Regions from separate parts of the Homo sapiens genome. Here all the other regions are linked to region 2. Evidence: promoter capture Hi-C in human tissues and cell types (Jung and others, 2019). All regions are on one chromosome and are shown on one strand. Each heading gives the region's core, a stretch centred on a gene start or on the middle of the fragment in contact. The rest is flanking DNA. Distances are from core to core; before and after follow the strand shown. Region 1 has its middle 6.3 kb from the start of SNHG10. Region 2 holds the start of BDKRB1 (bradykinin receptor B1). Region 3 has its middle 8.0 kb from the start of LINC02318.

What was found. The method cuts DNA at HindIII sites, captures the fragments that hold promoters and counts their contacts. A contact is called where the count stands out against the background at its distance.
Region 1: a contact is called between a fragment that was not itself captured here and the fragment with the promoter of BDKRB1 in region 2, in 1 of the 25 tissues and cell types used here (IMR-90 fibroblasts).
Region 3: a fragment that was not itself captured here is called in contact with the fragment with the promoter of BDKRB1 in region 2 in 2 of the 25 tissues and cell types used here (IMR-90 fibroblasts and heart left ventricle).

The regions. Positions count from the first base shown.
Region 1 is chr14:95,527,077-95,530,114 of GRCh38, forward strand. No RefSeq gene overlaps it. Among named protein-coding and RNA genes, the nearest start is that of SNHG10, 6.3 kb to the right of the region's middle. The HindIII fragment of the contact is 7,739 bases long and covers 1-3,038 here.
Region 2 is chr14:96,254,826-96,257,900 of GRCh38, forward strand. BDKRB1 (bradykinin receptor B1) reads left to right here and starts at 1,385. Exons shown (of 3, transcript NM_000710.4): 1 at 1,385-1,475. The HindIII fragment of the contact is 16,224 bases long and covers 1-3,075 here.
Region 3 is chr14:95,564,049-95,567,131 of GRCh38, forward strand. No RefSeq gene overlaps it. Among named protein-coding and RNA genes, the nearest start is that of LINC02318, 8.0 kb to the right of the region's middle. The HindIII fragment of the contact is 4,366 bases long and covers 1-3,083 here.

The DNA of each region.
Region 1 (3,038 bases), core at 1-2,500, 730 kb before region 2:
AAGCTGTGTGTGTGTGTGTGTGTGTGTAGTTTTTGTTGGCAAGCTAAAATAAACTGCATGTTTCCTTGACTTCCTATTCAGAGCATGGGGAAAAGAATTTCTTTTTCTTGCTCGGAAGCATAATACAAGGCACTAGTGCACAAGGAACAGTCACGGGTGAAGACTGTTCGCCCCTCCTTACATCGAATGCCCCAGAATGCTGCTTTTTAAGAAGAATCCCAGAATGTCTGCCTCTTAGTGCTTCACCTTTCACTTACTGTTCAGTCATTGTTTCTTTCTGCTTTTAGTGTTAGCCTTTTAAAATTTACTGCTTCTGATCTGTTGTGGTTATATTAGAAAACTAAGTAAGTTAGCTATTCCCTAAAATAAGAATAGCACTTGGGTAAGAACTGAGAGACTTTTCCTAGAATTGAGCAAAATGATTAATTCCCAGAGAATGTATAATTACAGGGGCAGCCCTTATTGGCTCTTGCCCCAGCTTCCTCAGTAAAATAGACTAGTGCCCCCTACCTGCCTTGCCAGGAAAGACAGAGACTCATTCTATTATAAAATGTATTTCTCAAAACCAGAATGACTTTGAAAGATGTGTTATTTTTCTGAACACAAGTAAAAATTCCTTCAAGTAAGAGGATATTATTTGCTCTGTAATTAGACAGCCAATAGTATGTGTGGATTATCACGGATCTGTGGCTGCATGGTATGAAGAGATGAACCAACGGGAATATCCCATTGATTTCACATCGACTAGACTGGCATGTCCCCTCAAGGCTGCACTCATACAGCTATGATATGAAAATGCCAGATCACCGTCTATCTGGAGAGGGAAGAAGGTTTGCCAATATAACAGCTTCTCCTCAAGTCACCCAATTTTGCCTATGTAATAAAGCTTATGCAAAAAAAACTCCTTTTTTTTTAAACAAAATGTAATTGTTTTATGATAGTCTTTTTTTTTTTTTTTAAGATGAACTTTTGCTCTTGTTGCCCAGGCTGGAGTGCAATGGCGTGATCTTGGCTCACTGCAACCTCTGCCTCCTGGGTTCAAGTGATTCTCCGGCCTCAGCCTCCTCAGTAGCTTGGATTACAGGCACCCGCCACCACGCCCGGCTAATTTTTTGTATTTTTAGTAGAGATGGGGTTTCACCATGTTGGCCAGGCTGGTCTCAAATTCCTGACCTCAGGTGATCCATCTGCCTCGGCCTCCCAAAGTGCTGGGATTACAGGCATGAGCCACCACACCCAGTCTTTTGATAGTCTTTTATTAAAACTCTTTGAAACTGTGGCTCACTAAAATTTGATATCAATGAACAATATCTCACTAGGATACCCTTTCAAAAAATATTAAGTTTAGAATTAGCAAATAGGATTTTTCTGGCTGTAAAAGGAGAACAAAAAAATTTAAAATCCTCCATTTTTTTTTGCCAGCAAAGGAAAATGAATAATTAATGCCTCATCCCATTTCTAACTTGAATCATCCCTCCCCTCCCTGCAATTAAACTGGGGTGAATTTCTTTTTTGCTAGATGAACTGTTTTCTATTTATTTGTTTATTTCTGAGACAGAGTCTTGCTCTGTCGCCCAGGCTGGAGTGCAGTGGTGCGATCTTGACTCACTGCAACCTCCACCTCCTGGGCTCAAGCAATTTTCCTGCCTCAGCCTCCCAAGTAGCTAGGACTACAGGCACCCACCACCATGCTCGCCTAATTTTGCATTTTTAGTAGAGCCGGGGTTTCACCATGTTGGCCAGGCTGGTCTCGAACTCCTGACCTCAGGTGATCCACCCGCCTCGGTCTCCCAAAGTGCTGGGATTACAGGCATGAGCCACTGCGCCAGGCCTAGATGAACGATTGAAGAAGGCTGGAGCAATGGGTTCCCACAATAGCAAGACTGCATTTTGAAGGCATGAAATTATTAAAGCTCAAAGACTGAAGTACAAAGTGAAATTCTGACTCATGATAAAGTGTATTTATGGCCTTGGCAATACATCTTAGCAATTATTCAAAAGAAAACAATTAAATTTCCTAAATGTTCTTCTGGCTGCAAACTCAGTGACTATCAGAGGGAGACATAAACTTCTGCTAACAGATAAATCTTCCTAACAGGTTGGATACACAACAGCACTGCCTCCTTACTCTTTCTATTCTGCGATCTAGGGACCTTTTCAGGTCTCTGGAATGTAATAATTTGAGTTATAGAAACTATCTGCTGGTTAAAAAAAAAAGAAACACATAATACTACAAAACACTGCCATTAAACAGGCAGTTGGGGAAAATAAACAATTCTTTCATCACCTTTAACCAAAAGGCTTAACAAGTTTTACGATTACCACTTAATTCTCAATACCACTTTCCGGGAGATATGATTCAGGCCCATGTCCTTGTTATTAAATAAGGCTTGCAACAGAATGAAATCCAACAGGTGTATGACTTTCAAGGCACGCAGCCGAGGAGCTTGGCCCTCAATGCGAGAAAGCAGCGTGGGGACAAGAGGAACATAGCTTTCAGAAACAGCAGGCTATAGGCTTAGATTTTTTTTTATTAGATTTTTGGTTTTCTGTGTGTTTGTCTGTTTTTTTGAGTTGGAGTCTCGCTCTGTTGCCCAGGCTGGAGTATGCAGTGAAGTGGCGAGATCTCAGCTCACTGCAACCTCCGCCTCCTGGGTTACAGCAATTCTCCTGCCTCAGTCTCCAAGCAGCTGGGATTACAGGTGCCCGCTACCACGTCCGGCTAATTTTTTGTATTTTTAGTAGAGATGGGGTTTCGCCATGTTGGCCAGGCTGGTCTTGAACTCCTGACCTTAGGTGATCTGCCCGCCTTGGCCTTCCAAAGTGCTGGGATTACAGATGTGAGCCACCACGTCCAGCTATTAGATCTCTGGATTGAACTTTTGTCATTTTAATTTACAAAGCCCAAAAATCATCTGTGTATCTAGTATATATGCAGAGCCAGCAAAGATAACTGGGATAGTTGATTTTCTACAGGACTTGTTGGTGATGCTATGAATCAGCAGGAAAACAGAAATTGCATGTGAAGGCAACAAAAC
Region 2 (3,075 bases), core at 135-2,634:
CCGAAGTCCAGCTCACTCAGGCCAGCTCTCTTCACAGACTGTCTTCCAGCAAGAGGCAAAGCAGAGATGAGACCTGCACGTGCTCTTTGTGGCAGAGCTGGCCTTATACGCACTCCTGGGTGAATAAACAGGGAGACATCTCCTAAGAACAAACGCTTCTCAGAAACAGTATAGTCTAAACTCATACTGAAGGGAGAATAAGCCAGCCACGGGCTGGAGAGACCCCCGCCTACATTACTAAGTAACAGGAAAGGCTAAGATTTGGAGCCTTCCTCCGGTTCAGATCTATCCCGGGAGTAATGGAAGATGCTTGCCTGTTGACAATTTTTTTTTATTAAAAATCCCACCCAGGAGGTCTCTCCTGATAGGAGGGGACCATCCTATCCTCTAAGGCAAATTCCAGCTTCTTCCCTGAAATGTACATCCGCTACTGAGCCTCAGAATGCTATTTGTTCCACCTACTTCCACAGTTTTAAGGTCTTCAGCAACAGGAGAAGACAGCAGGAAAACTTGAAGTGCAGTTGGCTCCCGCTGAGATGTCACTAGCAGAAAAAGGGAACACAAGCAAAAGGCAAGATTCTAAAGACAGAGGTGACACCTTCTGCTCCAAACATTTGGAGGGTCACCTTTCCAGAAGTCAGACTCGAAGTCCTGAATTCTGGCATGAATGAGTTCTCCTACGTGTAGGGGGTGGCCTGGAAAGATCTTAATTTGTAAGTTGACAGGTAAGGGGCCTTCAGTTGGAGAATCTTGTCACCTGATTCTCAAAGCCAAAAATATCTTACTGTCTGAAACATGAGGTCTTGAGTAGTTCAACTTGACCCATGCAGACATAATTTGAGAGACGCCAAGGAGGATTAGGAAAAAATGTATCTGGTCTTACTCAACTCTGAACATTGCATGAGTCAAACGTTTTCCTAGCTCTCTGTTTGTGTGATGGGTCCACTCTGATGGATTCTTGGCGATGTATCTTTCATGACCAAAATTCAAAAGAGGCCATTCGAAGTGGCTCCCACAAAAGCTGCTGCAGAGCCCCAGACATTCAGAAGCCAATAGTGAAGGGGCCAAAAGCCATCCCTCAATGTTCACTGACACTTTGCGAGCCTTGGGGCAAGTTGGCGATGTCAAAACATGTTTTTAGGGCGTGTTTGCCAACATACAGGTCTTGGGCAGGATTGCAGACCTCTGCAGATGGTACCAAAGTAAAGGGGGAGATGGTAGCTGAATAATCTCTTATCATCCCTAAAGTGCAAAGTGAAATGAGAGTGGATTTTTCCTTCCAAATCCACTTGGAGTGAGTCCCGAAAGACTCACTTTTGCGGCAATCCCCACAATGACATCACTGGAGCGGAGGTTATATAATTTAAAGCAACCACATCTCCACAGCACTTCCCAGAAGAGAAAACTCCTCCAAAAGCAGCTCTCACTATCAGAAAACCCAACTACAGTTGTGAACGCCTTCATTTTCTGCCTGAGTAAGTAAATGACCACCTTTTTTTTTTCTTTTATGAGAGTACAATATGAGAGGAAATCTGTGTCTCTTAGAAAAACAAAAAACTTCCTTTTACACCTACCTATTGGCAAAATTTTCCACTTCTGTGAGGGTACTTTTTAAAAATAATTCTAAATCAATTTAAGAGACTTTTATTTCATGCCTAGTTTGGGTCTTAATTGCTTTTCCAGAACAGGAGGAGGAGGGAAAGGTTTTAGAACTCGTAGGAAGGTTCCAGTAGCTCCTTATATCAAAGTCAGGTGAAACATGTCAGGGCTGAATGCAGCCACCAGAGTTCGCATGGACTGACCAGTTACAGCCTGCAAATTCTGAATCATAAAAATTAAATTAGTCTCTCTGGGATGGCTTACAAGATTTCATAAGACCAATAACTGGTTGGGTTATTCGTGGCTTGAAAGTAGCATCTTACTATGTGACCGTGCTGATGGTCTTTAACATCTGTGGCTGAATTTCCAATGCCTTTAACATCACCATGCTGTTGAAATTGGAGTTAATTTGAAGAATTAACTAATTTGTTGAAGAAAGTCACACTGTCTCATAGCCTAGGTTAAAATGTGCAGAATTCAGAAAATACCACACAGGAATTACAGAATTGCCATCTCTTGTAGACTTGCCCAGTGCCCCTTCTGAGTTCTTCAAATAGGGTCACATATTACTAACAATATCCAGAGATATTGTTTATTGAGCACCTACTATGTTCCAGGCAAATATCAGAGCTAAAGCTGAAAACTGGCAAAGGAAGATTTCTCCTCTCTAGCCAACTTTATAAACACAGACAGCAGCAGGTGAGGACAATCCCTTTAAAAATAAGCCCCATGTGAGCAGACACATGCTGTGGCTGCAGTGGCCCCAGCCACCTCCCCGTCCTGGGGATGGGGGCGGTGTCCACTGACCTAATCAGGTTCGAGCTAAAGTCCCTGCGTAGCTGGTCGTCTCTGGCTTCCTGGGCAGGGTGCAGCCTCACCCCCGTGCTGGTTTCCTAAGGCTGCTATAATTAATTATCACAAAGTGAGTGGCTTAAAACGATGCAAGTTATTATCTTACAGTTCTGGAGATCAGGAGTTCAAACTCAGTCTCGCTGAGCTAAAGTCAAGATATTGGCTTGGCTTTGTTCTCCATCCCCATGATTCAATTATCTCCCACCAAGTCCCTCACACAACACGAGAGAATTATGGGAGCTACAACTCAAGATGAGATTTGGGTGGGGACACAGCCAAACCATATCAGTGCTCAACACCCTCCCATCTCTTCTCAAACTCTCAATGCCCCAGCCCCTCCACCACAGGTCAGGACCTCGCCTCCTTTCTCCCTGAGAAATCCCAACCAATCGCCGGGGAATTCTACAGATTCCCACCTGCCAGCCTCTGTCACCATAGACCTCAGCTTCCTGGCCATCATCAGAGATAGCTAGGAGAGGGATGGTCAGGCCATGTGTGTGCACACTGCCGGGGCACCCCAATAGTCAAAAATTATTTCCCCCAAAAATTAGTATTTACAGGTAGAAAGAGAGAGGAAAGAAGGAAGGAAGGAAAGAAGGAAGGGAAGGAAGGAAGGAAGGAAAG
Region 3 (3,083 bases), core at 199-2,698, 690 kb before region 2:
GGGCAGGGAGTGGTAGGGGTAGACCCTCCCAGTCCTTCCAAATGCCCGTGGAAATCTGCTGGCAGCTGCAAAGGCCTGGCCCAGACACCCTCAGAGATGTTGGTTAATGTGTGGGATTCAGAGGCCCAGGTGTCAGGGAAAATAAAGACAAGGATGCTGGCTGGCTGCCTTCCTCCTTGGCAGTTTGCAAAGTCAATGAGTCAATGTCCCAGAACAGGGCCTTTGGGGAGAAAAGTAGCCAGCTGCGGCTGTGTCCCTGCTGGGAGTGGCTTGCTGAGAACAGTCTTGCTAACCAGCTTCTGTTGGGTTGTGCTGTGTTTGTGGGGTCAGAGTGATGATGGTGTTATTGGCGTCACAAAAAACTGCATGTGGGGGTGCGGTCTGAGCCCCAGGGTCCAAGCTCACTGCTGTGCCGCCATGGTGATCGAGCATCGCGGGTTCCCCTCGCTGTGGGTTTGGGATCAGGCAGTACCTGGTATGGTGCTTGTCTCTTACTGTGAGACCCTGGGCAAACCTGCCCCTCCCTTCTACTCCACAGGCCTTTTCACCTGTCAGAGGGGAGAAGAGTAACATCTGGTTGGGCACAATGCCTCACATCTGTAATCCTGACACTTTGGGAGGCTGAGGAGGGTGGATTGCTTGAGCTCAGGAGTTCAAGACCACCCTGGGCCACATAATATGACCTTGTCTCTAATAATAATAAATAAATAAAATAAAAGAGTAGGCCAAGCACAGTGGTTCACACCTGTAATCCCAGCACTTTGGGAGGCTGAGGTGGGTGGATCACTTGAGGTCAGGAGTTCGAGACCAGCCTGGCCAACATGGTGAAAACCCATCTCAACTAAAGATTTTTAAAAATTAGCCAGGTGTGGCCAGGTGTGGTGGCTCACGCCTGTAATCCCAGCACTTTGGGAGGCCGAGGTGAGCGGATCACGAGGTCAGGAGATCGAGACCGTCCTGGCTAACATGATGAAACCTTATCTCTACTAAAAATACAAAAAAAATCAGCCGGACGTGGTGGCGGGCACCTGTAGTCCCAGCTACTTGGGAGGCTGAAGCAGAAGAATGGCAGAACCCAGGAGGCGGAGCTTGCAGTGAGCCAAGATCGCACCACTGGACTCCAGCCTGGGCAACAGAGTGAGACTCCGTCTCAAAAAAAAAAAAAAAATTAGCCAGGTGTGGTGGTGTGCATCTGTAATCCCAGCTACTTAGGAGGCTGAGGCAGGAGAATCGTTTGAACCCGGGAGGGGGAGGTTGCAGTGAGCCGAGATCATGCCACTGTACTCCAGCCTGGGCAACAGAGCAAGATTCCATCTCAAAAAAAAAAAAAAAAAAAAAAAAAAAAAAAAAAAAAGAGTAATACCTAAGGGAGTATTTGTGAGTTTTAAAGAAAAAAAAAATGCATGTAACATGTCCAGAACAGAACCTGGTGCATTGGAAGCTCTGAATAAATATTATCTTATATCATCATCATCATCATCATTAAGTGGGAACAATTGTTGAGAAATTGATATCAATTGTTTGTAAGAAGTTTTCTAGAAAACACATTGGCCCCCACTCTATCCCCAAGCCCTTCTCAATGGTAGCTCCTAACACAGTGCTGGAGTGTTTGTTAAATGGCCAGGAACTGCTGCTGTTTAACCCGGGGCCTTTAATTGGTGTTGCTGTATCAGGAAATATGGAAGAGGGATTCCCTGGCACCTTTGCTCAACAACCCTGCCTATCTAGTATGGGTCTAGGTGTCTTCATTCATCCATCCATCCCTCCATTCATTCATTCATCAAAGCACTTTTATATACAATATATACTTGATGCCAGGTACTGTGCAAGACATCAGGCACACAATAGAGAGCTAAACCGGGCATGGCTGCTGTGCACAGGTAGCCAGTGGGAGCCAGGCCTTAATCAGACCATCCCATTGATGATAGAAGGGCACTGAAGGACAGGGAGGCTGTTTCCATGAAAGGAGACCTGGGCGTGGGGTGGTCAAGTAAAGCTTCCAGGAGGAAGTTATGCTTCAGGTGAAACTGGAAGGACACATGGGATGAGTGGAAAGGACTTGGACACAAGAGGAAAGGGGAAGGAGGAAGGCAGGGCCCTGCAAGAGCTGGAACCCCCTGGGGTGGGATAAAGGAGGGCACTCTCTTTTGACTCTGGGCATGTTGTAAGAGGAACCTGTTTCACACCAGGGACATTAATAGCAGCCAAATCAGCCTTGACCCCAGAGCAGAATGGGAGACACTGTCTCTTGTGGACATGGAATGGGGGCTGCATTTTCAGCAACAAAACTGGAGGGGGCGCTCCAGGTCCAACACTACTCTGGCTCATATTGTCTCAAGGCTGTGAGAGTCCAAGAAATAAGGATCACAGCAAAGAAGACCTTGTTTTTCTCACTTCTGACCTGGTGCCTTGGTGAGCGTTCCCCAACGCATCTTAACATACATTCATGGGCCCTAGAAGGGCACTGGATTAGAAACCAGCGAATTGGGAGTCCAGCTCTGACTCTGCATGGCCTACCGCCATCCACCAGGAGCTGGGCAGCTTCCAAGGGCAGTGGCCAGTCTGTTTGGCCGTGTCCCCCACCCAGCATAGTGCCAGGCCTATAAAAGCCTTGGTGGGGCCGGGCAGGGTGGCTCACACCTGTAATCCCAGTACTTTGTGAGGCCGAGGCGGGCAGATCACCCAAGGTCGAGAGTTTGAGACCAGCCTGGCTGGCCAACATGGCAAAACCCCATCTCTACTAAAATACAAAAATTAGCTGGGTGTGGTGGCACATGCCTGTAATCCCAGCTGCTAGGGAGGCTGGGGTAGGAGAATTGCTTGAACCCGGGAGGTGGAGGTTGCATGAGCTGAGATCACACCACTGCACTCCAGCCTGGGCGACAGAGCAAGACTCTGTCTAAGAAAAAAAATGCTTGGTGGTGTTTGTTAAGTGATTAAAATCTAAAGACAAAGCTGGCAGGAACCAACTAGAAAACCAGTCACCTGAGAAAGAATAGGTACATGGGCAGCTGTGGGCCAAGAGCCCAAGGCTCCACTGGAGCTCATAGAACTTTGTGAACCTGTAGGTGGATCTCTTTCAT